6 separate regions of the Homo sapiens genome follow, and all the other regions are linked to region 3. Evidence: promoter capture Hi-C in human tissues and cell types (Jung and others, 2019). All regions are on one chromosome and are shown on one strand. The core of a region is centred on a gene start or on the middle of the fragment in contact, and the rest is flanking DNA. Distances in the headings are between cores, read along the strand shown. Region 1 overlaps ATP5MF-PTCD1 (ATP5MF-PTCD1 readthrough). Region 2 holds the start of SH2B2 (SH2B adaptor protein 2). Region 3 holds the start of CLDN15 (claudin 15). Region 4 holds the start of ARPC1A (actin related protein 2/3 complex subunit 1A). Region 5 holds the start of ORAI2 (ORAI calcium release-activated calcium modulator 2). Region 6 holds the start of ALKBH4 (alkB homolog 4, lysine demethylase).

Region 1 (3,994 bases), core at 939-3,438, 1.8 Mb after region 3:
GTTGATTGGCCCTTTCAAAGGCTGGCTCTGAGATATTACAGCCAAGAACATGTTTCCTGTTGCTTGGAATCAGTATGTCTGCCTCTGTCTTAGAGAAATCCTAAGACTTCTTTAAGAGGAAAATGAATTGGAACCGTAGTGGGCATTAGTCTATAATATGATGCTCTCCTCCCTGCCAGAACTTCAGGACAAATATTTGAAATGGCCTATCTTGGCCTGGTGTGGTGGCTTATGCCTGTAATCCCGGCACTTCGGGAGGCCAAGGCTGGAGGATTGCTTGAGCCGAGTTTAGACCAGCCTAGGCAATATGGAGAGACCCCATCTCTATAAAAAAAACCACACAAGAAAAATTAGCTGGCTGTGGTGGTGCATGCCTGTAGTCCCAGCTACTCAGGAGGCTATAAGCTCACAGCCAAAGGGGAGAGGTGGAATCCAGGTAGGCCTAGTTCAGGAGCTGGTATGTGCTTATAGTTCAGGCTATGGGGATGAGAGACCTTACTGGCATTTGTGCTTGTCATCTTTATCAGCCAGTGAATGCAGGGCGAGGGGCTTAAACAGCCAGAGCAGGACTAGGTCCCTGAATGTCAGCCAGACTCAACTGTGTGCTCAACTTCACTCAAATGTGAAGCCCAGCAGGGCAGTGAGCGCCTCTTGCGTTTGCAGGTTACTACCGGTACTACAACAAGTACATCAATGTGAAGAAGGGGAGCATCTCGGGGATTACCATGGTGCTGGCATGCTACGTGCTCTTTAGCTACTCCTTTTCCTACAAGCATCTCAGTGAGTGCCTCTGCGGCGTCTTGCCTTTAGTTCCCATGAGAGGGTGGTGGTGACTGATTTCATTAGATACAGCAGCCCACCTTCTTCTGAGGCTGAGGGACCTTTAGTTAAAGTTCCTTATGTTTCCACCTAAAAGAATTGGAGGGACCTATCAGAGTACAGTATGTGGGATATTGTTTGAAATGAGAAAATTGTGACAAAGAGAACACAGGAAAATCAAGATGAAGCCAGGGTAAAGAGAGTACTTAGAAGCATTCTTTAAAATACAGCACACTGTGAAAATTTGGCTCGATTTTCCTAGTAGCCAATGCAGAAAGAGAAATGAGTTGAGTGGGATAATCTGGTACCCCAGAAAAGCATGGCTGTTCCGGCTCTGAGGCTTGAGAGGAGCTTGTCTGGTGGGAGATTGGCGGGAGGTGTCGGTGGCAGCCTCTGACTAGGCTGTTTCTGACAGTGTAGTGTACACCCCCTACCCCCACCTCACTCCCATTCTGTGGCACCAGGGCGGTCCTGCCTCTGAAGGACGGGTTCTCTGGGGCTGTTTGTCTGAGCGTGTGTTCCCTCTGTTCCTTCTGGAAAGAAAGTGGTTGGCCAGGTGGCAGGTTGGCTCCTGAGGTGTCTTTGTGCCCCCCGGGTCTGCTGATTCTGCAGAGACACCGGCAGGCGGGTCATGGGTCATCTCTGAAGGGAATTCTCAGGAAGGCTTTGTGTGATCTCAGCCTGCTTCCTGCCATGCTGTGCCTTCACTGTAACCTTTTAAGATACTTACCATCTTGCCTTCCTGACTTCAGAGCACGAGCGGCTCCGCAAATACCACTGAAGAGGACACACTCTGCACCCCCCCACCCCACGACCTTGGCCCGAGCCCCTCCGTGAGGAACACAATCTCAATCGTTGCTGAATCCTTTCATATCCTAATAGGAATTAACCTCCAAATAAAACATGACTGGTACGTGTGCTGATTGCCTGCCTGTCTGCCGTAGCCATTATCCCATGTTCCAGGGGCTCCTGTGGCACAAGGTGGGGGGAGGTCGTCTTTCCAGGCCGTTGACCGGTGAAGGCCTTTGTGGACTTCCCAGACCACCACTCTGGTCGTGTCCCAGCTCCCTGGAGGGCAGGGTGTCATCCAGACCTTCCCGAAGCAGCAGTGCCGAAGTCCGTCCCTTGCCATGAGTGCTGTGGGCAGGTGCATTTGCAGACATTCTGGCCTTTAGTTGGCTGGCCCTTTATGGTGTAACACAAAGGCTTGCGTACCTGAGAGCGCCAGATCCCACCCCGGCTGTCCTGTGGCTCCAGGCAGGGATGGCCCGCATCCTGTGTTTCTGCATCACCCTGGGGCATCAAGGGCTACAGGGTGAGGTGACCCGGCACTGTCTGGAGAGACCTCAGGCAGCACTCACGCCCAGGCTGCAGGGATTGTGGCCCTCCGGCTGAGGCGGCTTCTCTAACAGGAGGCTTAGTGGGTTGGGGGTGATGGGGAAAAGTGAGGGGCTATGGCGGCCCCTCCCTGCTTCCTCTTCATCAGAGCCTCATTGGGGGTGGGATACTGTGCCCCAGAAATAGGTGCCACCAGACATCTGAGCTGAGGTGGAGGACCTGCCTGCTGGCTCCACAGATCAGACTCCCAGACTTGACCAGCTGCTTGCAGGCCTTCTGGGCAGCTGCACTTCCCTTTGTGAGGCTGACATTTGTTGAAAGGGACAAGAAAGCTACGCCGTGATTGCAGCCAGTGTAAAAGGGTTGGCATGAGACCCTTAATTAATGAGACATGGCTTAAAAAACAAGCTTTAATCCATTTCATAAAAATTGTTCTTGCAATTGAACACAGCCAGGCCCACATGCCCAGCAGGTTGCAGGAGACAGTTTCACATTTTCCAGGCTCAGGACAGGGCAGTCTCCTCCACATGCCACAGGTGTCTGAGTGACAGTGTAGACGCCTGATGGGCAGGAGGTAGGCACAGATGATCTGAAGGGGTCATCTATTTAAAAGTCTGCAACTCCAGTTCAACGGACACCTTAAACACTGTCAGGCACGTACCCCAAGAGAAAATTAAGCCCAGAGAAGAAAACCTCAGGCTTGAGAGCCCTGTACCCCTCCTCAACCGCTGCCACCTGGGACCAGGGCCAGCCTGAGGCAATGGGGGCACCTGAATTTGCCCCAAAGGGCTCCCTCATTCAAATCACAGATATAGGCACAGCTTTAGGATTCAGCAGGGCAGGGAGGGAGGAAGCAGGCGTGAGCTGGCCACAGCTTTGAATGACCTACCAGCCCCTGGCGTCACCAAGAACTGGTGTTTAATGAGGGGAATGACCACCGCCACACAGAACTACCTAGCCAAGCCCCTCCCCAGCAGCTGCCTCCCTCCCTGGATGAGGGGAGTTGTGCCGGGAGTCCCAGAAAGGAGGCATCGATGCCCAGCCAAACATGATGTCGACTGCAGGGACCCACAGGACACATGTCCCTTTTTCAAAAAATACTAAGGCAAAATGATAGGAAACTAACAGACGTGGCCCCTCAGAGTGATGAAACCCACGTGTCTGCGGGCCAGCTCGAGCCACAGTCGCGCCAACAAGCGCATGAAACAGTTAAATGCACACTCCCAACAGCGGGGCCCCCGGGCTGCTCGGAGCTGGCTCCAGCTGCTGTCACTGTCCACTGAGAAAGGCCAAGTGCCCTTTGGTGCATCTGTTGGCGTAGTGTCCTTTCTCGCCACACTGGGAACAGCAGGAAGTGGGGGAAGAGGAGAGACAGACAACAACACTGTTCAAATGCAGTTTTCAACTAAGGGAGTGCCCACCAAATCCCAAATCATCCACCAAGTCCCCAGTCGGGACATGACTCTGAAATTCTCAGTGGTACAGAGTTTCTTTCAAATTAGAGGGTGAGGGAGCTCAGGATGGAAAGTGCAGTGGTGCAGAAACTAGCCAGCAACTCCGCAGATGCAAGGGAGAACAAGGCCGCCAGAAGGCGACCTGCTAGCGACCTGCTCTTTCAGGCCCACAACTCTCCCACCTGGACACATGGCCTGCCCAGGGAGGGACTCCCAAGTGGGTAGCAGGACAAAGAGAAGCCCGTGGCACCTGAGCTCCGCCACCCCGTCTGGGGACCAAGCCCTTCTGCACCACAGGCCAGTCACTTACCTCTGAGCCAAGGTCTGGGGTTCCCTGGCAGGAGATGGGAGGGAACAGCATCAGAAGTGTCCCAGCCTCCCCT
Region 2 (4,022 bases), core at 370-2,869, 1.0 Mb before region 3:
TAGAAGCATTCAACCAAGCAGCATCAGAAGCCGGCCTGCCACGGGGTGGGGCTGTTCTTGTATGTTGGTAGGACAGACCTCTAAGGAAGTAGCTGGTGGGAAACTGTCTCTGAGACCCCCAAAAATGCCCTGATCCACACTAGCCTAAAAGAAGTGCCACCACCGCCACCACCAGACCTCTCCCAAAGCTCCTGGAGCTGAAAAGTTCTAGGTCACTCTCCCAACCTCTTCCTGCGTGGAGTGGGGAGGCCAGGAGGGAAGAGGTTGGGAGAGTTCAAGGTGGGACACAGTAGTGGGGGCTTCAGCTCAAGAGGCAGTCAAAACCTCTTGGGGAAACCACACCCCCTGCCCCCAGTCCTCCCAGAGGAGCTCCAGGGACCTGACTCTGGGACGCAATTCCTGCCGGGAGTTGCCGGTCCCTTAGCCAGGAGGCAGGCAGCACCATCCCATTTTACAGGGTAGGTGATGTTGGCTCGGGGGCATTGGTAGGGCTCCACCCAGGTCTGACAGCCTAGCCTGAGGCTCTCCCTTGCACTAGCTCGAAGTGCACGTAGATCCTGGCTTATTCGTGTTCAGAGTCTCGCCTGGGGCTGCCCGGTCTGCCTTGCGTGGCTCCTGAGAGGCTCCAGTCACTGCAGACTTCCCTCCCTGAAGGCCCCCACTTCGGGGCTGCAGGGGGCCAGGATGCGTCCCTGCCTCTGCCCGGCTTCAGCCCGCTGGGCTGGCGCGGTTCCGGCCCGCGCAGCCCGCAGGTTCATCAATGGCCGAGGCCCAAGGGCCTGAATGGAGGGCACGAACCCGCCCCTTCTTAAAGGCGCCGGCCTCTTGGGCACCCTCCACGATCCTCCCGGCAATCGGGGGCTCCGGGGAGCTCCCCGGCTGGGCAGGTCGAGAAAGGGGGGCCTGGGCCAAAGGGAGGGCGTGCCTGTGGCCTGGAGGAGGTCCTCCCCGATCCCATCCCGTGGCCCTCACCCTCATTCTAGGTTGACGCCCCCTCCCAGCGCTCCCAGCGTAGGGAAGAGACCTGGGCACCCCTTCCCCCAACCAGAGACCCCTCCTCTAAGGACCCGGCTGCTCTCGCCCCACTACCCGGCCGGGGCCCTAGCAGGGGGCGGGGGCGCAGCTGCTCCAGAGGCGGCTCGGCCCCTCCAGCGGCTCCCCGCCCCGCCCGGGATGGGGATCGGGGAGCAGATCCCAGCCGGGGGCGCCTCCCCTCCCTCGCGCGCCCTCCTCCCTCCCACCCGCGCACACAAAGACGACACGCGCGGACCAAGGCGCGTGCGGCCGCTCTCCTTCGGGCAGCGGTGCGCACACAGCGCACGTCCCCGGGGACAGACAGGGGTCCCGGGGGAAGGACCAGGGAGCGAGGAACTGGGTATAAGGAGGCCATACCTACAGGCGCGCAGCTGCGGCCGAGCGGGCTGGGGCGCCGGCTGAGCGCTGCCCGGACCGCGGCCGGGCTCCCCGGGCCCGGTGGCTCATGGCCCGCGGCGGACTGGGCTCCCTCCCTCGTTCACCGCCTCGAAGGCTCCTGCGCTCCTCGCGGTCCCGGCGCGTCCCCCGCGCGGCTCTCTGGCAGCCGAGCTCCGCGCGCTCCAAGCCCAGCCCCAGCGCGGCGCGCCCCTCCGCCCGCGAGGCGCGCGCCTCCCGGCCCCGCCCCGCCCCCGCCCCCGCCGCGAGCCCCGGCCCCGCCCCCCCTCGCGCGTCCTGGCCCCGCCCCCTCCCGCCCCCACTTGCGCCGCTCAGGCCCCGCCCCCGGCCATCCGCGGAGCCCGAGCGGCGCCGGTGGCCGGTGCTTGCTGGCTCCCCGCAGCTGCGGTGCCGAGACTGCCCGGTCCTGGGGCCCGGAGAGAGGGGTTAGGAGCCGGCTCCGAGTCGCCCCATCTGGGCGGGGGTCCCCATGTCGCCGAGCCGGCCCCAGGCCAGGCGCGGGACTCCCACTCCTCCTCGTGGAGGCCACCCCTCGAGCCCGCGGTGGTGGTGGCCCCGGGAGCGCGGAGCGTGGGGCCGGGGGAATGTCCTGCGTGGCGGGTGTATGGGACGCGGACGCCCTCGAAGCGCCCCTCGCTGACGGGTGCTTCGCGGGAGCCGCCGCTGTGGCCAGACTCTCCGCAGCAGGGACAATGGGAGCCTGGAGGAGGCCTGGATGTCGCAACGGAGGAAGTCGACGCCTGGTTCTCATAAATCTCGAGGGCGCCACCACGCCCCCTCCCTGCAGCCCTCCGGTGCGGGAAATCGCCCCCGGGCCACAGGGCGGGACGGCCCCCCTGAGCGCAGTGCCCCCACCACCCAGCCTTCGCTGTGATGGGGGCCTGATGCCACCCGGAGAGGTGTCAGAGATCATAGAGGGGCGATGAGGGGCCACAACCCTGGCACCTTCCTCACCCCTGCCTGGCTCCAGAACTCGCCTGCTTTAGGGCAGAGACCAGTGGGGCTGAGGAAACAGTCCCGCTGGGCTTTGCGGGGCATTTGTAGCCTGACCCCTGGTGCTGAGGGCACAGCGCGGGGGCTCTGGGAGGCTTCCTGAAAGAGGTGCAGGGGGCTCAGCAGGCCTGGAAGGGGTCTGAGAGGGGAGGGAGGGCTTCGGTGGGGGCAGAGGTGTGGAAAGGGCCGCTCAGAGAAGAGAGTAGTCTTGCTCCTGGAGATAGCAGGGGGGGACCCCTGGGTGTCTTCTCCCCTCATCTCCCTCCTTGTCCCCTGCCCCCACCTCTGGCAGTTCTGTCCTGGTCTCCTTGCCAGCCGGAGCTGCCTCCATCTGTCGCCCTCCCGGGCCCAAACTGACCTCTGACTTTTCCCAGAGCCATTTCCCATCTCTAATTTACAGACAAGGGTTTTTATCAAACCCTTCTTAGGGATGGAAAGGTGGGGCTTCCAGAGTTGAAGGTGGAGGGGACAGAGCCTTCACCTGCTGCCCAAAACCCCGGTGCTGCCCTCCACGGGGGCACGGAAGACAGGCAGACCCCTTCCCTGCCCCACATCTCGGCTCTGTTCCCTCCGCAGGACCAGGCCAGCAGACACTTTAATGAAAGCTTCGGCAGTGGGCCAGCCCTCGATCGGAGCTGCACACAGGCCTGCACGCCTGGTTGGGAACCAGGACACCTATGAATGAGGCCGGGAAGGGGGAGGAGGGGGTGCCCGAGAGTGGGAGAAAGGGAAGCTCCATACATGGCCTGGTTGTGGTCTCCACCCTCCTGGGAGAGGGGAGAGCCTGACCCGCGGTGGACTAACCTGGTTCAGAGTAGTGGGCTGAACTCCACTGCTGGGATGATAGCGGCCAGAGAGGGTCCTGAGATGGGAAGCCATGGGCAGGACAATAGCTTGGATCCATCCCCAGGGAGGAAGAAGTGAGGAGGGGCCGGCGGCAGAGCGCCTCGGACCCACAAGGAGGAACTGATGGAGATGTGGAAGTGGCTGTGGGGGTGGAGGGGGCGTGGTTGGCCAAGAGCAGCTGTCGCCTCGCTGGGGATAGGAATGAAGGTCAGGGAGGAAAGGTCCATCCTGGGTCCCTGAGGGCAGGAGGCTTGAGGGGCTTGGAAGAAGTCCTCATGGGGGAGATGAGGGGTGCTGGGACGGGGACCCCAAAGAAAGGCCCCTGGATACACATGCTTTAGACTGTTCAGAACTAAAATGGAGACAGAGGTAGCACAGGGGACCCTGGCCTGGTGGGCTGCAGTGGGGGACCTGGGTTTGCAGCCAGTCTTGTGACAGCTGGACAATGAGTTAATGCACCCACTCCAGACCCAGAGAATGCGCTCCTCTATCTGAGGCTGGGCTGGAGGTGAGGTGGCCCAGAACCTGTGTCTCGGGGGGTTCCCATGCGAGGCTGGTGCTCAGGGAGATTGATGGGCACGGGCTTTGCAGCCCCTGGCAGGCGGGGGCCCATGGGAAAGGGGAGCACAGAAAGGGAAGCAGAGATTCCCCAGGAACTGACGTGGACCAAGACACGTCATACACCCAACCACAGCCCGACAGGTGGTTTTTTTTTTTTTTTTGAGATGGAGTCTCACTCTGTTTCCCAGGCT
Region 3 (4,426 bases), core at 387-2,886:
TGAGAGTGCCGGGCAGCTCGGAGACATGGGGCTTTTCCATGGTCCCAGAGTCCTGGGAGAAGGCAGTGACCTGAGCATGGGCGGGCAGAACTTCGGGGCCAGGCCGGGCTTCAGGCCTGCATTCTCCTCTGACCCACTCAGCTACTTCTGTGGAGTTTTCCACAGCAGGCCCCCTTGGCTTCCTCCTCCCCACCCTCCCCTCCCTTTGTCTTCCTGTGGCCTCCCCTTCCTCCTACCTCCTCCTCTGGGGGAGGGGGAGCCCAGTAGGGGAAGGAATCCTGCATCTGGCATGGAGTAGGCGGGGGTCCCGGGAGAGGTCAGAGCCCAGGGAGCCCCAGCTCTCGCCTGTGGGCTGGAAGGTCAGGACTCAGCCCCACCTAGCCAGCTTCGCCCCCTCGTGCCAGGCTCGGCATGGGCCTGTTTTGCTTCACCGCATACCTCTCGTTCCACAGCCCAGGCCAGCACAGGAGTAGGGAGGAGACACCTGAGGGGAGGCCGGAGAAGCCCAGCAGGGCCGTGGGGCCAGGGAGGTGCGCAGCCAGCGCTGATGGCCCCCAGGGACAGAGCCCTAGGGAACCGGAGCAGGAGATGAGAGTGTCTGCTCTGGGACAGGTGCTCTGCACTGGCTCGGGATGGGGACCAGAGGCTGCTAATCCATCATCATTAACGAATAGAGTGGGTGACAGTCCCTGATAACTGGGAACAGGTTGCAGAGCTTAGCCACAGGATCACGCTCCAGGCTGTTGGCCAGCAGGACCAGGCTCGATGCTGAGTCAAAGATCAACTTAGGAGGAAATTTGAGTTTTGGGTGAGAGCGACTCCCTGGTGGCCTCAGCCCTGTGACACTCACATCCAGGACAGTTCCCGGTGCCAAGCGCTGGTTATGTGTGGGGGGCTTGACTCCCTGGTCCCAACGAGGTCTCAGTGTGTTGCCCAGGCTGGTCTTGAACTCCTGAGTTCAAGCAATCGTCTCAGCCCAGCCTCCCAAAGTGGTAGGATTACAGGCGAGAGCCACTGCGCCCGGCCCCTGGTCCCAGTTCTCACCACAGCCCCTGCAGTAAGCAGTCGGGTATGTCACTGACAGAGCAGAAGCTCAGGGGACTAAAACTCCCCGCCTGAGTTCCCTGGTGAATGGATGGTGGGGCCGAGTTCCATTCCAGGCTGGATGGAGCCCAGAGCTGTGGGTCTCCTACCCTCCCATCCCCTCATTCCAGCTTGATCTTCCTTAAGAGACTCATACGCCCCAACCCCTTGGTCTGAGTATCTTAGATTGTTCTCGTGGTTCCTCCGTCCTTCACCACTGAAGGCTGCTGTTCATTCTCTCTCCGTCTCTGTCCCTTATTGCTCTCACGTCTGTCTCTGTCATCTTTTCACTCCTTGTCCCTCTTACTCCGTTCTTTGGCCCCCAATGAAAGCTGAGTCAGAGACAGACGCTTCCCCTCAGTTCCCAGTGCCTCCCTTGGGGGCCCCTCCTTGGCTGTATCCGTCAGTGGCTCCAGGGTAAGTCTGCCCCCCCCACCCTCGTGGGGCGGGGAGCCCGGGGCAGCCCAGAGGCTGGGGGGAGGGGGTGGACTTTTGGCCCGTTTCGGTTATTCCCTCCATCTCGTCAACAGCTGCCGCGCGCAGGCTTAGCTCATTCCTCTGACCTGCCAGGAAGCAGAGAGACCCACAGAGCAGGAGGGAGGCAGAAAGTGGAGACGGACCTGAGCCCGAGGAAGAGGCAGGCAGAGGCTGAGGCTGATTCCACCCCAGCCTGCCTGGACAACCCTCCTTAGCCGCAGCCCCTTCCAGTTCCCTAGGGGTTCTGCCCCTCCCCCTCTCTGGGGCACCAGCCCCCCAGGGTCCTGCATCCCACCATGTCGATGGCTGTGGAAACCTTTGGCTTCTTCATGGCAACTGTGGGGCTGCTGATGCTGGGGGTGACTCTGCCAAACAGCTACTGGCGAGTGTCCACTGTGCACGGGAACGTCATCACCACCAACACCATCTTCGAGAACCTCTGGTTTAGCTGTGCCACCGACTCCCTGGGCGTCTACAACTGCTGGGAGTTCCCGTCCATGCTGGCCCTCTCTGGTATGGGGTGGGGAGCGCTCCAGGGAGAGAGGGCGGCGGGGAAGCTGCAGAGACCCCAGGGGAGGGCGGGTACTTCCGTGAGGATGCAGGGAGCCCTGAATTAAGCTCTGCGGGTCTGAGTTCCCGCAGCCAGGAGTGCTGGGGGCGGCCCATGCCTAGAACTGGAGTGAAGACCTTGCCACACGTGGCCCCCTGCGCTAGTGTGGCGCTTTTAGCTGTTACAGGTGCAGGCACCAGAATCAGACCCCCTTTCCCAGCCCTGTGCTGTGGGCAAATGATGAAACCAGCTTCATCTCCCACCTGTAGGGTTAGGGTGAGAGTCCCAGTTCACAGGTGACTGAGAAAGTGCAGAATGTTAGCGTGATGTTAACACACATAGGCACTCAGTACGGTTGAGCATGTTTTGGGGGTGGGATTGCTGGGGTGGGCAGGGGGAGGAGGCCCCATCTTGGATTCTTAGAGGTTGATCAACTTCCAGGCTCCACAGACTCCCCAGCCTCACTGTCGGGGGGCACTGGTCTCCTTGTCCGGCTGATGTCTATAAAGGGCCCCTGTGAAGGGAGGCGTCTTGCAAGTTGCAGGTTGAGCGTCCGCTGTAAGGAGGCGGTGTGTGTGCAGGTGTGTGGGGCTTCCAGGACAGTGTCTTTCTGGGGTCTTAGAGGGCTGGAGCCAACAGCTCTTTGGGCCCAGGGCAGTTCTTTCTGTGGCTGCGGCACCTTCCCGCTCCCTGCTCCCCGCTAAGATGAGGCCGCCCCATTGTTTCTCCGGGGCAGTCTCCCTTCCGTCTGCCCTATGCCAGAGACTGAGCGCTGGCGACCGTGAACTGTGTGTGGTGCCGCTGCACGCCCTCCTGGGTCCTTCAGGGCCAGTCCACTCACCAGGCACCGTGTGGCAGGGAAGGAGCCGAGGGCGACACTGGCTGTGAAGCGGGGCTTGAGAGCTCACCCCCGGGGATGTTGGAGCTGCTCTGAGCAGTTAGGGGGCCTGGGTGGGTCTCCTGTGCCCCCACTACTCCCAGCCCCTCCTGAGGCAGCGGCAGAGGCTTCCTGTTTTCATCCATCTCTCTAGGACTGACTGTATGCAGGGCCGGCGGGCCCCCCCCCCAAAAAAAACCCTATAAAAGCTGAGTACAACTTGGGCCAGAACCCCAGAGTTCTGAGTGTCCAGAAGGGACACTGGAGGCAGCCCCTACACCCACTTCCCAGACACATCATGCTGTGAGGAGGGGGCTCTGCTGTGAGCCTGCACACCTGAGAGGGGCACCCCTGGCAACTGCATGAAAGATGGTGCCAGAGTCCCCAGGGCACAGGGGTAGAGGGTGACCAGGTTCCGGGCCTTGGGCTAGGTGCTTCTGCCTACATTTTTCCACAGTGGGGAAGTAGGGGGAAACTTTTACAGAAGCAAGGTGCAGCACCCCACCCTGAATCACACAGGCAGGAGAGGGGAGCCGGCATTCAGACTCCACGGCTGGGGTGGTCCTGGGAGAGGGACCTGACTGCGTCTCCCAACCGTGCACCCCAGCCCCTGGCCACGCAGCCCATGTGCCCCTGGGCTCTTCCATAATCTCTCCATTGACTGCTAGAGCCACCTGGGGACTCAGACTCGTGTCAGCCCCAGAGGGAGTGGCTGGGAGGAAGAAAGTGCTCCCAGAGAACTTTGTCCCTCCTGCCTACCCCCCGACTCTGCACCCTGCATCTCCTGGCAGGGACCCAGCCTTTCCCCTTCAGCACCAACAGTTATGCCCCACCCGGGAAAGGGGTGCAAGGTCCTTGGAATGCTTGGCAACTATCAAAGACAGAGAAGGGAGGAGAAGGGGGAAGCAAGAGGGAGCCCGCAGCCTCCAGCTCTGAGAAAAGGGAAACTGAGGCACTGAAAGACTGAGCTAGACTGACCTGGATCGGTCCTGGGCCCAGGATTCCACCTAGGTCAGAAACTCCACCGGGTGTGGTGGTCCACACCTGTAACCTGAGCTACTCAGGAGGCTGAGGCAGGAGGATCGCCTGCATCCAGGAGTTCAATCAAGGCTACAGTGATGAGCTGTAGTGGCGCCACTGTCCTCTGGCCTGGGCGACAAAGCAAGACCCTGTCTCTAAAACTGCCCTAGGCCCTCTGCTGTACAGCACCGCTGCCCCCTACCTGTTACTCCAGGAAGAAACCAAGGTCAAAATGTCCAGCACTGGGCTAGGACAGTGAAGGACTTGGAGTGGAATCAGACGTGGGGAAGGCGACAGCGATGCTTAGCTGTGGTTTCTGTATACCCAGCAACGTGAGAGCAACCTGATAGGGCAGTTGTTCTCAGCCGGGCGACTTTGCACAATGATTGTCACAGCTTGTGGGGAGGGGGTTGCTACTG
Region 4 (4,126 bases), core at 20-2,519, 1.9 Mb after region 3:
CTCCCTAACAGGACAAAAACACCTTCCTGACTGATGCCCCTCCTCTGTTTTTAGATACCTGAAAACCCAGGCCCTATGTGAAACCACAAGACTAGATAAAATTGAGGAGAGAGGGCAGAACTAAGATAATCTCGGCAATTTAAGCTACGAGTTGACATAGACAGAAGGTTCCAAAGCTGCAGGAGAACAGATGGCTTTATAATCAAAGATTCTAAGCTATAACTGATTAAGTGCCTATCATGTTCCCAGCAGTGTTGTAAATACCGGGATGGGGCTAGAAACATAAATAAGGCTGACACCATTCTGGTCTTCAAGTCTGGAGGGTTGGTGTTTGGGGAGAGTGGAGGAGATAGAAAAGGAAAGGAAGACGGATATGCATAGAATGCCCAGAAGCAGTAATAATAGCTAATATTTATTGATCACCTACTCTCGGCCAGGAACTATTCTAAGCAATTTATGCAAATAAGCTCACTTGATTCTTAGCAAAACGGTAAGAATCTTTTTATTGCAGATGAGGAAACAGGCGCAGAGAAGCATCTTCCCAGGATCACTCAACAAAGTGGTGGTGCCAGGACTGGCATAAAAGATTCCACTAAATGAATAAGAGCGCCGAGAAGGGTGCAATTTTGACTTGGGGGAAGGCGGTACTCATGCAGGGAAATCTTAAAAGAACTCGGGAGAAGGTTTTTCTCGAGATCGAGAAGGTTCCCCATTAACCGAAGGATTGAGGGCTGCCCTAGAGAGCAGGCAAACATCCTATGGGCGCCTACTGTATGCAGGGATCGACTCTAGACACTAAAGAGATGAATAGTCCCGCGGGTCGCTCGATTACGGGAGATCCTCCTACTTGACACAATTTTAGAGACGGTGACAAATGCCCCCAGCAGAGGTGCAAGTAGGACCCTGGGGGCGCAGAAGGGGCCGTTAATTCGGGCATCGGAGGCGGCTAGGAGCTCGAACATCCTGAGAAAAGCTGCAGGGGATCCACGGAGAAAGGGGATCCCCGCCCCCTCAGGAGGCCCCGGCAGGGAGACCCGGCCGCGCCTCAGCCTCGGGGCCCCGCGGCCTGAGCCCCCGTCTCACTGCCCCCGCGGCAAGTCCGGCGCCAGGCCTGGACAAGAGAGGCCGACAGGGTGAGACGCTCGCCCCTGCTGGCCGTTACCTGGGATCGGGGGAGTCCGGACGGGCTCGGAGCGGAGGATTCGCGGACTCTGGGCAGTCGACGCGAACAGGCTCCGTCGGGCGCGGGCGGAGGACGGAAGCCCAGAGGGAGCGGCTGACAGATCCCGGAAGTGGACACGGCGCCTGCGCGTTGCGACCGCGCGGACGGTCCGCGCATGCGCACAGCTCGGGCGCGCAGTCCGGGGTTAGGCAGGCTGCAGTGGAGGAGGGTACGCCGTTCCATTGGCGTGGTACTGTCGGCGGCCCTTCAGAGGAGATGCTGCCCCACGGAACGCCTGGCAAGTGCTGGCGAAGCGGCATGGGCGTCCCACTCCGTTCCTCAACCAATTTCCTCACAATCGCGAGCCGAAGTGTGGCGCTTTGGCAGTTTCGCAAGGTCTTTTGTCAGGAGATGAGTTACTGAGGATTGGGGGTCTTTGGAGCTCTTGGACCTGAAGAACGATTAAGTTTTTCTCCCTTCAGAGAGCCAAGGTCAGAGCCAGTCTACCTCAGCGCTGCTCCCTGCAGGGAGCCTCCGCCCCCGCCGTGCTCCCTCTGTGGAAAGCCCCTGAAGCCCCCCAGGAACTTTCTCGACCCTTCCTGGGACAGAATCCCCTGCTCCCAAGCAGTTCCCTGCTCCCAAGATGGCGCAGCAGGGATAAAAGGGTTGGGGGAACTTGGCAAGGCCCCCAATTCACAGAGGACAGAGCCTGCCCCGCAGATGCAGCCTCCAAGAAATGCCCTGATCCCCACCTGCAATCAGGCTGCTGCCCTTGAACCCTAGAAATTCTGGAGCATCCCCAGCCCCCACAGATGGGGCTAATCGAGAGCTTTTCTTTTTTCTTTTTTTTTAGACAGGTTCTCAACCTGTAGCCCAGGCTGGAGTGCAGTGGCGCGATCATAGCTAACTGCAGCCTGGAACCCCTGGGCTCAAGCGATCCTCCCGCCTCAGCCCCCCGTGGAGCTGGGACTACAAGTGCACACCACCACGCCTGGCTAATTTTTATTTTTTGGTAGAGACAGGGTCTTGCTGTGTTGCTTAGGCTGGTCTTGAACTCCTGGGCTCAAGCGATCGTCCCTCTTTGGCCTCTCAAAGCCCTCAGATTACAGGTGTGAGCCACTGTGCCTGGCTAATTTTTATATTTTTTGTAAAGATGAGGTTTTCCTATGTTGTCCAGGCTGGTCTTGAACCCCTGGGCTCAAGCAATCCTCTAGCCTCTGCTTCCCAAAGCGATGTGAGCTCCCCCCCGCCGCCGCCCAGCGCCATGCCAGGCCAACCAAGGGCTTGTCTCCTTCCCTTTGGTATTGTAAGGTGAGGTTTATGTAGGTATACTTGTCAAACTCTCAATTTCAGACCCGCTGTGATCTTTTTGAGACGGAGCCTTTCTCTGTCGCCCAAGCTGGAGTGCAGTGGCGCGATCTCGGCTCACTGTAACCTCCGCCTCCCGGGTTCAAGCGATTCTCCTGCCTCAGCCTCCCGAGTAGCTGGGACTACAGCTGCGCGCCACCATGCCCGGCTAATTTTTGTATTTTTAGTATAGACGGGGTTTTGCAATGTTGGCGACGCTGGTGTCGAACTCCTGACTTCAGGTGATCCCGCCTGCCTCAGCCTCCCAAAGTGCTAGGGTTACAGGCGTGAGCCACCATGCCCTGCCAGACCCGCTATGTTCTTTGGAGTTAGTGCAGAGTTCCCCAACTCCTTGGCTGCTGACGGGTGTTGGTCTGTTGCCTGTTAGGAACCCATTGGCACATGAGGTGAGCAGGGCGAGCCAACGAAGTGTCATCTGTATTTACAGCCGCTCCCCATCTCTGGCATTACGGCCTGAGCTCTGCCTCCTGTCCAATCAGTGGGGGCATTAGAGTCTCATAGGAAAGTGAACCCTATTGTGAACTGCATATGCGAGGGATCTAGGTTGCATGCTCATTATGAGAATCTAATGCCTGATGATCTAAAACCACCCCACCCCTCTCCCCTAGCCCCTGCCCCCTTTTCCGTGGAAAAATTGTCTTCCATGAAACCGGTCACTGCTGCCAAAAAGATTGGGGACCACTGAGTTAGTGAATCCAGCTGTTCATGGAACATCGCTTCACTGAAATTCTGATTTTAACTCTGACCTGTGGTTACAAAGTCTTTGGTCATAGGGTAATCGAGCAGATAGTGTAGAAAGATCATTGTAAATTCATTACCCCCTCCAAGAGACAGCTTGGGAAAGGGAGGACAGCAGGTGTGGAAAGCAGGGATTCCTTGTGTGTCTGCAAGTTACTTGAACCAATTCCCAAGTATGTAGAGGAGTTTATGAAGATCCCACCTCTTTACAAGGAACACTTACTGCTTTGATGGAATTTATAATCTGGGTAGATGAGAGTAACACATGCAAATTAATACCAGACTTTATGATAAGTGACAAGAAATGTTAGCCCCAGAAAAAAATAACAGATATTTACTATTATTAATCTCTGGTTCTGATTTGAAATAGTATTTTGCAATTTAGCCTAACCAAAGCTTACCATTTGATGCATTTCACTTTTTTTTTTTTTTTTTGAGATGGAGTCTCACTCTGTCACCCAGGCTGGAGTGCAATAGTGCGATCTTGGCTCACTGCAACCTCTGCCTCCCAGGTTCAAGCGATTCTCCTGCCTCAGGCTCCTGAGTAGCTGGGATTACAGGCACACGCCACCATGCACAGCTGATTTTTGTATTTTTAGTAGAGACAAGGTTTCACCATGTTGGTCAGGCTCGTCTCGAACTCCTGACCTCATGATCCTCCCGCCTCGGCCTCCCAAAGTGCTGGGATTACAGGCGTGAGCCACCACACCCGGCCCACTTCATATTTTATGAGTCATTCCAGATGGTAGAATCTTAGCTCTAAGCGGGGCTCTTCTGTAATTGAAGAAAAAGAAAAATTTTGACACTTGAGGAATTTTTTTGTTTTGTTTTGTTATGCGACAGTGTCTGGCTCTGTCA
Region 5 (4,218 bases), core at 1,120-3,619, 1.2 Mb before region 3:
AAGGTAAGGGGATGTGGGTCAGGAGCAGTAGCTCACACCTGTCATCTTTGGGAGGCTGAGGTGGGCGGATCACTAGAGGTCAGGAGTTCGAGACTAGCCTGGACAACATGGTGGAAACCTGTCTCTTCTAAAAATACAAAAAGTAACTGGGCATGGTGGTGGGCGCCTGTAATCCCAGCTACTCAGGAGGCTGAGGCAGGAGAATTGCCTGATCCCAGGAGGCGGAGGTTGCAGTGAGCTGAGATCCTACCGCGGCACTCCAGCCTGGGTGACACAGTGAGACTCTGTCTTAAAAAAAAAAAAATAGCTGGGTGTGGTGGCAGAGGTTGCAGTGAGCCAAGAGCACACCACTGCACTCCAGCCTGGGCAACAGAGCGAGACTCCATCTCAAAAAAAAAAAAAAAAAAGAGGGGGGGGCAATCCTCATCCACTGAGCTAAAGGCTTCAATGGAGGGCAGGGAGCAGAGGACTGGCTGCCTCACACCAAGGCCAGGAAAAGGTGCTTGCAGGTAACACCGGGGAGGGGACAGAGCGGCCCTTTGCATGCCAAAGTGCCTCATGCCTGTAATCCCAGTGTTTTGTGAGGCCAAGGTGGGAGGATCACCTGCGGCCAGGAGCTGGAGACCAGCCTAGGCAACAGAGTAAGACGCTGTCTCTAAAAATAATTTTTTTTGACATGGGGTCCTGCTGTGTTACCAAGGCTGGAGTGCAGTGGCACAATCTCAGCTCCCTGCAAATTCTACCTCCCAGGCTCAAGCGATCCTCCCGCCTCAACCACCCGAGTAGCTGGGACTACATGTGTGTGCCACCATACCTGGCTAATTTTTGGTATTTTTGGTAGAGACAGGGTTTTGCTATGTTGGCCAGGCTGGTCTAGAACTCCTGAGCTCAAGTGATCCGCCCACCTTGGCCTCCCAAAGTGCTGAGATTATAGGCATGAACCACTGCGCCTGGCCTCTAAAAAGAATTTTAAAAAAGAGGGACCTTTCCTCAAAGACAAGATGCTGCCTGCATGGAAGGATTCCGAGAGACGGGAAGGCCACTCCAGGTGTACATGTGGGGTGGCTCTCCTTGTCCAGGAGATATGGAGGGAAGACTGGCTGCCACCTGGGGGGTGGAGGGGGCAGGGAGATGTGGGTGGAAGACACTTGGAGCCTGGGGCTGTGGAATGAGCCAGAGGGTCTGGGCAGCATGACTGGGCGTCCAGCCACAGGAGAATGGAAGAAATTGGTGAGTGGAACGGTCTGGGCACTGCTAGATCATTCTGGTTTGGGACCACAGTTCAACCCAGGGAAATGGCTGGCCGACTGGCAGGAGTGGGACGCAAGGGAGAGCCTGGTGGCCTCCAAAGGAAGGAAGGGTGAACAAGAGGGATGCCCCATCAGTAAGGGTGGGCTGGGCTCAGGTCTGAGAGTGGAGGTGAAGAGCTCAGGGCAGTGAGGGCTGAGGGTGGCTTCCTGGGAGCCGCCAGGCCTCCCATGCCCCATCGGTGAGGCCCTGCAGATGTCCCCAGAGTGGGTGGGATTGTGGAGGAAACGATGTCTGTCTGCCTGGAGCTGGGTCTTGAGACAGGTCTCCAGGTCTCGAAGGAGCAGCCCAGGAGGGGGTTCAAATCCATCCTTTATGTTCCCAATGCCAACTGTGTGTGCCAGGCCCGGTGGCCCAGGGGGAGGGACAGAGTCTGGGCCTCACACTGGATCCCAGGCAGGGGGTGGGGTGGGGCAGGATGGAGCCCTGTACTTCTGTCAGGTGGCACAGACCCTAGAGGATGCTCCGGGACTGAACCTTGTGGGGTTGCTTTTTTTTTTTTTTTTTTTTTTTTGCTTTAATGAGCAGTCCGAGAAAACAGGTCTTGTAGAATAACGCGATCCCCTCTCTAGAGATGAGCTTTTCTTCCTGGCTGGCCTACTGGACACATTTCCAGAGGGCGGTCTTGGAGTTTGACTTCCTCTAAGCATCTGGGGCACCGGCAATGGCGAGTGTCTCTCTCCAGCAGGCGCACTGGGAGGGGGCCTCCCAGGGGCGCTAGGCTGCATCCCTGTCCCTCCCCCAGGGACGCCCCGGTGTCCGGAACCGGCTGCGCCGCCGACCCTGATCCTCTGGGCGCCGCACCCCGCCAGGGATCCCGCGGGGTGGAGGTCACCAACCCCGGATGGGTAGTGACCGCGCCCGGGCAGCCTACAGTCGTCCCCTTCCCCGCCGAGCGTCCCCGGTCCAATTCCGGCCCCCCCAGCCGCAGGGACCCCGCTCCCCGCGCCAGGCCCCCGCGCCGCCACACTCACCGGAGCTGCCCTCGCCCCGCCCGGCTCGGCTCCCGCTCGGACTGCGTGGCCGCGTGGCCTGTGGCCCAGTGGCCCGGCCGGGGCGCCGAGCGCGGCCCCCTCCCTCCTTCCGCCGGTCGCGCGGGGTCCCCCGGCCCCGCCTCCACCCCGCCCCCGCGGCCGCCGCAGCCGCTGCCAAGGCAACCAGGCGCCGCCAACACGTGACCCACCCGCGGGAGAGCCGCGGCCACGTCACCCGCCGGGCCGGGAGGGGCGGGGCTGGCGGCGCCTCCTCGGAGAGTGGGGGGGTGGGGGTCCCCGCCTCACCTGGAACCACCCCGGGATCGCGCGAGGGAGAGGAGCAGGGGAGGTGGGAAGACCCCGACCCGCGCGCATCCCTCCTGCCCCAGCTCCTGTCCCCGGCCCCAGCTCTGGGAGTCAAGGCGAGGCCCCCCACCGCCCCATCGGGGGTCCGGCTACCCACAGACCACGAGCTGGGCTTTCCCTGCCCCTGGGTCCGGGCGCAAAAGGGGAGCCCCAGGCTTGGCAGGGTGAGCCTCGGGGGGTGCCCAGCATTGGACGCTGGCTGCGTAGAGGGGCGGGGAGTGGGGACAGGGCGGGCGGGTGCAGGTGGGCAGTGGAGGGGAAAGGAAGGTGGGGAGGGGAGAATCCGTCTGGCCACGCCCGAGTTTTCACAGGATTTTTTTTTTTATTTTTTTGAGACAGGGTCTGGCTCTGTCGCCCAGGCTGGACTGCAGTGGTGCGATCACGGTTCAATGCAGCCTCGAATTCCTGAGCTCGAGTGATCCTCTGCCCTCAGTCACCCAAAGTGCTGAGGCTACATGTAGGCAGGAGCCACCACACCGTGGTAGTTTTTAAAAAATTTGTTTTTGTTTGTTTTTTGAGAGGGAGTTTTGCCCTGTCACCCAGGCTGGAGTGCAGTGGTGCCATCTTGGCTCACTGCAACCCCCGACCCCGGGGTTGAAACGATTCTCCTGTCTCAGCCTCCGAGCTACAGGTGCACGCCACTAGCCTGGCTACTTTTTTGTATGTTTAGTAGAGATGGGGTTTCACCATGTTGGCCGGACTGGTCTTGAACTCCTGACCTCAGGTGATCCTGCCTGCCTCGGCCTCCCAAAGTGCTGGGATGATACATGTGAGCCACTGTGCCCAGCCAAAAAAAAAAAAAAAAATTCTTTTTTTAGAGATAGAGTCTTCCTGTATTGCCCAGACTGGTCTTAAACTCCTGGCCTCAAGCAATCCTCTCTTAGCCTCTCAAAGCACTGGGATTACAGGCATGTGCCACAATGTCCAGCTAATTTTTAAATTTTTTAAAAAAATTGAGATGGGTCTTGCTATGTTGCCTCTGCTGGTCTCGAACTCCTGGGCTCAAGTGATCCTCCCACCTCAGCCTCCCAAAGTGCTGGGCATAGAGGCATGGGCCACCTTGCTTGGCCCCTGCCCAGGGTGTTGGATGGCACCATGAAGAGCTTGCACTGAGCTAATTGGGGGTTGCCACCCAGAGTGCACTGCCACTCACAGACCCAGCGAGACCCCTGGGGTCCCAACTTCAGTGCAGCGTGCTGTCCTTCTCATGCTGTTCGCAGACAGCAGCAAAGAGTTTCTGCTGTGCCCTGGCCCCTTCCACTCCCTACTGCAGGGAGCCTCTCACCTTTAACGGTGAATTCTCTGCGGTTTTACGAGCGAGGCAGTCAAACAGGAGCATTCTTTTCAGGAAGTGCAGCACATGAATAATTCACAGACAGACAAGATGGGTTCCTATCAGCCCGGCGGTGCCAGACGGTCCCTTGGAGTCCTTCCTCCATGCCGGGTAGGCTGCTGCGTGCCCTACATAGGATTTTTCCATCTGTCACAACAGCATTGGACCGTGACACATTTATCCAAACGAAGGAAAAATTCCACTCATGTCAGCCAGCCCACATTTTATGACAATTGG
Region 6 (4,580 bases), core at 1-2,500, 1.2 Mb before region 3:
GAGCCTGAGCCCAACAGAGTCCTGGCCCCAGGTATGAAGCTGGTGGGAGGCTCCCACTTACCGTCAGGAAGGGGTTGCCCTCCAGGCTGAGTTCCTCGAGCTTGGGGAACTGGCACAAGGCAGTAACATCCCCCAGCTGGTTGTTGGCGCAGCGGAGGACACGCAGGTGGGACAGGCCCAGGTTGTCCGGCAGCGTCTCCAGGTGGTTGTTAGACAGGTCAAGCTCCTGCAGCTGCGTCAGGCGGCACAGGAGTTTGGGGTCCAGGTGCTCGGAAAGCAGCTCCAATCCTGACAGGCTGGAGTTGGGGGCAGAAGGCTTAGGGGGCGGGCAGGCTTTGCACCCTACACCAATCTGCCCCGGGTACCTCAGAAGGCTTTTTCACCTGACATTTCTCGTACAAGTGTAGCCGCCCCGCCCATCCCCCCGTTACTTTATTTTTAGAGACGGGGTGTCACTCAGTCGCCTAGGCGCGATCATAGCTCACAGCTGCCTCCAACTCCTGGGCTGAGGGATCCTCCCGCCTCAGCCTCTCGAGTAGCTGGGACTAGAAGCGCGCGCCACTACTCCCGACTCCACACCACTTAACAAAAAAAAAAAAAAAAAAAAAAAAAAAAAAAAAAAAGCTGCAACTACTTTAGGACTCGGGGGCATCCTAGCCCCCTCTAGGATGCTCTTCCTGATCCTTCGGGGGCTCGTCTGTGCTTCCCAGGCCCTCTAACGATAGCGGCAGGCTGTGCCCCTAACTGTCCGGGCTCCCTTCAGGGGATGAGGCCCCTCGGGGCTCCCGGCGAGCGGGTGGGGCCACGATCTCCCAACAAGAAGACATTTGGACCACTCTGCCGAACCCAGAGGGCGATAACGGGGACAAGCGGGCCGTTGGGGAGGGTCCCCGCTCTTCTCCCCGACCGCCCGGCCCCGAGGACACAGCCTCACCCGCTGCCCGGCTCTTACTCCAGACTCCGGATCTTCCCCAGCCGGTCGCTCTTGGGGCGCCCGCGCTGCATTAGCAGCCGCGCCGAGAGGGGGCCCATGGCGAGGAGGCGCAGCCCGCGCTGACCCAGTCGGCCACCCCGGCGTGTGGCGTCGCCCTGCGTCTCCTGGAGCCCGGCACTGGCGTCCGCGGTAACTGAGCCCAGGAGGCGGCGCCGCGCGAGCCCGTGGGCGTTAACGACCGGAAGGAAGCGGAACCCAGGCCTCGTGCCCCCGCCCGGCGCGGACTACAACTCCCAGCGGCCCCCACGGCCGCGCCTGCGCACTGGCCACGCGGACGGCGCGATGGCGGCGGCTGCCGCCGAGACCCCCGAAGTCCTTCGGGAATGCGGTTGCAAGGGCATCCGGACCTGTCTGATCTGCGAGCGGCAGCGCGGCAGTGACCCGCCCTGGGAGCTGCCCCCAGCGGTAAGGGGTGGGAGAGGGGCCGCGCCCACAAACGTCGCTCTGCATCTGGGGAAACTGAGGTCCAGCTTGGCCATGATAGGGGCCGGGATCGAAGCCTGTGAGGGACCCTTACGGTAGGGGTGATGCAGGGTGAGGAGATGAGGGCTTTAAGGAGCGGGCTTGGGAGTGGGGAAGGAGCTGGAACGTGGGTGGGTTCGATTACAGGTCACCTCGGGGACTCTGGGGGGATCTGCCTGTAAACCTCGACGTAGCCTCTCGGGTCTGGCGCTGGGAGCTTCACGGGCCTGCAGGGAGATGACACGGAAAGGGTCGATCGAGGGTGCTGAATACCAGTCCAACGGTGCCTGAAGGCCGTGGACTGCAATGGGCAAGGAGACAGTGAATTCCAGTTAACTAACGAAAAGGAACTCAAGGATCGCTGCAACCCAGGAGCTGGAGGCTGCAGTGAGCTATGATCGAGCCACCTCACTTCAGCCTGGGCGACAGAGCGAGACTCTGTCTCACAAAAAGAAAATAAATAAAAAAAGAAAAAGAACTCAGCGCCTTTGGGCTGGCATGGAAGGACTGTGGTTGGTTGCAAGGGCATTCCAACCCAGAAAACTGCGTGGGGTAGGAAGGTGGATTGGTGATGCCTCAGGTGAGAGAGATGAGGCTGGAGAGGTTGTGGGGGGGGGGAGGTCTGATCACAGATGCTCCCCGGTGCATCAGCTGAGCAGGCTGGACTTGTCCCAAAGGCCCTGGAGAGCTCTTGAAGGGTTTTAAAGGAGTGATGAAGTCAAATGTGAATTTTAGAAAGATCCTGGGAAGGGAACGGGCAGATATGAAGGTGTGGAGGCTGGTAAGCCAGTGAAGACTGCCCCAACGTCCATGGTAAAAGTGCCCAAGGTCCTATGGAAACAGCATGGCATGCCTCATGAATTAAACATAGAATTACCCATGATCCGCAATCCTGCTTCTGGGTATATATCCAAAGGAACTAAAAGCAGGGTCTGGAAGAGATATTTGCACACCCATGTTCATATTCACGACATTATTCATGACAGCCCAAAGATGGAAGCAAACCAAGCATCTATCAAGATACCTGGGCCGGGTTCAGTGGCTCACGCCTGTAATCCCAGCACTTTGGGAGGCTGAGGTGGGCAGATCACCTGAGGTCAGGAGTTTGAGACCTGCCTGGCTAACATGGCGAAACCCTGCCTCTACTAAAATTACAAAAACTTGCCGGGCTTGGTGAGGCACATCTGTAATCCCAGCTACTCGGGAGGCTGAGGCAGGAGAATCGCTTGAACCCAGGAGGCAGAGGTTGCAGTGAGCCAAGATCGCACCACTGCACTCCAGCTCAGGTGACAGAGCAAGACTCCTTCTCAAAAAAAAAAAAAAAAAAAAAAAAAGAGATGACTTGATCCACAAAATGTGGTGCATACACATAGTAGAATACTATTCAGCCTTAAAAAGGAAGGACAGGCCGGGCACAGTGGCTCACACCTGTAATTCCAGCACTTTGGGAGACCGAGGCAGGCAGATTGCCAGAGCCCAGGAGTTTGAGACCAGCATGGGCAACATGGTGAAATCCCACCTCTACAAAAAAATTAACCATACATGGTGACACGTACCTGTAGTCCCAGCTACCCAGGAGGCTGAGGTGGGAGGGTTGCTTGAGCCTGGGAGGTCAAGGCTGCAGTGAGCTGTGATCACGCCACTGCACTCCAGCTTGGGCAACATAGTGAGACCCTGTCTCAAAAAAAAAAAAAAAAAAAAGGACATTTTGACATATGTTACAGCATGGACGAACCTTGGGGACACGATGCTAAGTTAAGGAAGCAGTCACAGAAGACAAATACTGCATGATTCCTGTTGTGTGAGCTACGTAGGGTAGTCACAGGGACAGAAAGTAGAAGGGTTGTTGCCAAGGGCTCAGGAAGGGGAGATGGGGACCTGTTGTTTAATAGGGAAAGAGTTTCAGTTTTGCAAGATGAAAAAGTTCTGAATGGTGGTGACGGCTGTACAACAATATGAATGAACTTAAGAGTTTTAATTTGTGGAAGGGGCCAGGTGCGGTGGCTCATGCCTATAATCCCAGCCCTTTGGGAGGCTGAGGCAGGAGGCTCGCCTGAGTCTAGGAGTTTGAGACCAGCTTGGACAACATAGCAAGACCCTGTCTCTACAAAAAATTTAAAAATTAGCTAGGTGTGGTGGTGTGTGCTTGTAGTCCCAGTTACTTGGGAGGCTGAGGTGGGAGGATTGCCTGAGCCCAGGAGGTCAAGGCTGCAGTGAGCTGTGAGCGCCACTACACTCCAGCCTGAGTGACAGAGCGAGACCCTGCCTCAAACAAAAAAAAAGAAAAGAAAAAAATTGCGGAAAGTCTGACCCGTTCCAGTGGCCATGTGGAGGTGACATCTTCCCAACCCGATGGCTATGGAACAAGGAGAGTGAGGTATCCAGGATCTCAGGGCACTGGGGCAGTTCCTCACTGGCTTTCCAGCCTCCACCCTTCATATCTGCCCCTCCCCCCTCCAGATCTTTCTAAAATTCACATTTGACCTCGTCACTCCTTTAAAACCCTTCAAGAGCGCTCCATGGCCTTTCGGACAAGTCCAGCCTGCTCAGCCGACACACGGGGGACTCCCAGTTTTAATGTTTCCCGTGGGAGGGCCCCAGGAGCAGGAGGAGATAGTGCCAATCTCAGGAGGGGTCTGAGCTGGAGTCGGTGGCTGGAAGTAAAGCATTGGAAGGGGCTGAGGTCCCTGGAGGGAAGAACAGAGAAAGACAGCGGCCCACAGTGAGTGGCAGCCCAGGGTGTGAGGAGCCTGGAGATGGAAGAGGAAGAGGAGACAGGCCACAGAGCCCAGGGCTGAGTTCTGGTGGCCTCCGAAGTCCTCACTGGGTGACTCCGGCCAGAACCTCCACACCTCCTGCCCATGATAGTTATGGTACCTTCCTCTTGGGGCTGTCCTGGGGATGAAACTAGATAATCCATGTAAAATGTTCAGTGCCACAGATGCAAATACTGGCTATTTCATTGGCGAAACTCTTTTTTAAAAATTTACTATTGGCTGGGCATGGTGGTTCACGCCTGTAATCCCAGCACTTTGGGAGGCCAAGGCGGGAGGATCACAAGGTCAGGAGTTCAAGACCATCCTGGTCAACATGGTGAAACCTCGTCTCTACTAAAATACAAGAA

Evidence for each region. Contacts are between HindIII fragments. The study calls those that stand out against the background at their distance.
Region 1: a fragment that was not itself captured here is called in contact with the fragment with the promoter of CLDN15 in region 3 in 1 of the 25 tissues and cell types used here (IMR-90 fibroblasts).
Region 2: the fragment with the promoter of SH2B2 here is called in contact with the fragment with the promoter of CLDN15 in region 3 in 1 of the 25 tissues and cell types used here (dorsolateral prefrontal cortex).
Region 4: the fragment with the promoter of ARPC1A here is called in contact with the fragment with the promoter of CLDN15 in region 3 in 1 of the 25 tissues and cell types used here (heart left ventricle).
Region 5: a contact is called between the fragment with the promoter of ORAI2 here and the fragment with the promoter of CLDN15 in region 3, in 1 of the 25 tissues and cell types used here (dorsolateral prefrontal cortex).
Region 6: the fragment with the promoter of ALKBH4 here is called in contact with the fragment with the promoter of CLDN15 in region 3 in 1 of the 25 tissues and cell types used here (dorsolateral prefrontal cortex).

What each region holds. Positions count from the first base shown.
Region 1 is chr7:99,455,933-99,459,926 of GRCh38, reverse strand. The region is part of intron 2 of ATP5MF-PTCD1 (ATP5MF-PTCD1 readthrough); the gene reads left to right. CPSF4 (cleavage and polyadenylation specific factor 4) reads right to left here. Exons shown (of 8, transcript NM_006693.4): 8 at 2,554-3,495. The coding sequence ends at 3,427. It overlaps ATP5MF (ATP synthase membrane subunit f), which reads left to right. Exons shown (of 4, transcript NM_004889.5): 3 at 664-780; 4 at 1,572-1,732. The coding sequence ends at 1,600. Among named protein-coding and RNA genes, the nearest start is that of ATP5MF, 8.2 kb to the left of the region's middle. RefSeq lists an enhancer at 3,403-3,994. The HindIII fragment of the contact is 8,805 bases long and covers 1-3,994 here.
Region 2 is chr7:102,284,465-102,288,486 of GRCh38, reverse strand. SH2B2 (SH2B adaptor protein 2) reads right to left here and starts at 1,619. Exons shown (of 9, transcript NM_001359228.2): 1 at 1,393-1,619. RefSeq lists silencers at 1,112-1,651, 1,722-2,301. The HindIII fragment of the contact is 12,688 bases long and covers 967-4,022 here.
Region 3 is chr7:101,235,012-101,239,437 of GRCh38, reverse strand. CLDN15 (claudin 15) reads left to right here and starts at 1,636. Exons shown (of 5, transcript NM_014343.3): 1 at 1,636-2,073. The coding sequence starts at 1,857. The HindIII fragment of the contact is 32,734 bases long and covers 1-4,426 here.
Region 4 is chr7:99,323,041-99,327,166 of GRCh38, reverse strand. ARPC1A (actin related protein 2/3 complex subunit 1A) reads right to left here and starts at 1,269. Exons shown (of 10, transcript NM_006409.4): 1 at 1,163-1,269. LOC105375421 (a long non-coding RNA gene) reads left to right here and starts at 1,359. Exons shown (of 4, transcript XR_927798.3): 1 at 1,359-1,653. RefSeq lists a silencer at 989-1,168 and an enhancer at 1,144-1,703. The HindIII fragment of the contact is 7,349 bases long and covers 1-4,126 here.
Region 5 is chr7:102,431,726-102,435,943 of GRCh38, reverse strand. It overlaps ORAI2 (ORAI calcium release-activated calcium modulator 2), which reads right to left and starts at 2,369. Exons shown (of 4, transcript NM_001126340.3): 1 at 2,283-2,369. RefSeq lists silencers at 1,960-2,739, 2,770-2,909. The HindIII fragment of the contact is 14,608 bases long and covers 1-4,218 here.
Region 6 is chr7:102,461,533-102,466,112 of GRCh38, reverse strand. ALKBH4 (alkB homolog 4, lysine demethylase) reads left to right here and starts at 1,250. Exons shown (of 3, transcript NM_017621.4): 1 at 1,250-1,399. The coding sequence starts at 1,277. LRWD1 (leucine rich repeats and WD repeat domain containing 1) reads right to left here and starts at 1,129. Exons shown (of 15, transcript NM_152892.3): 1 at 953-1,129; 2 at 62-296. The coding sequence starts at 1,032. MIR5090 (microRNA 5090) reads right to left here and starts at 371; the gene lies at 287-371. RefSeq lists enhancers at 1-201, 479-578, 202-728, 858-1,507 and a silencer at 919-1,348. The HindIII fragment of the contact is 23,818 bases long and covers 1-4,580 here.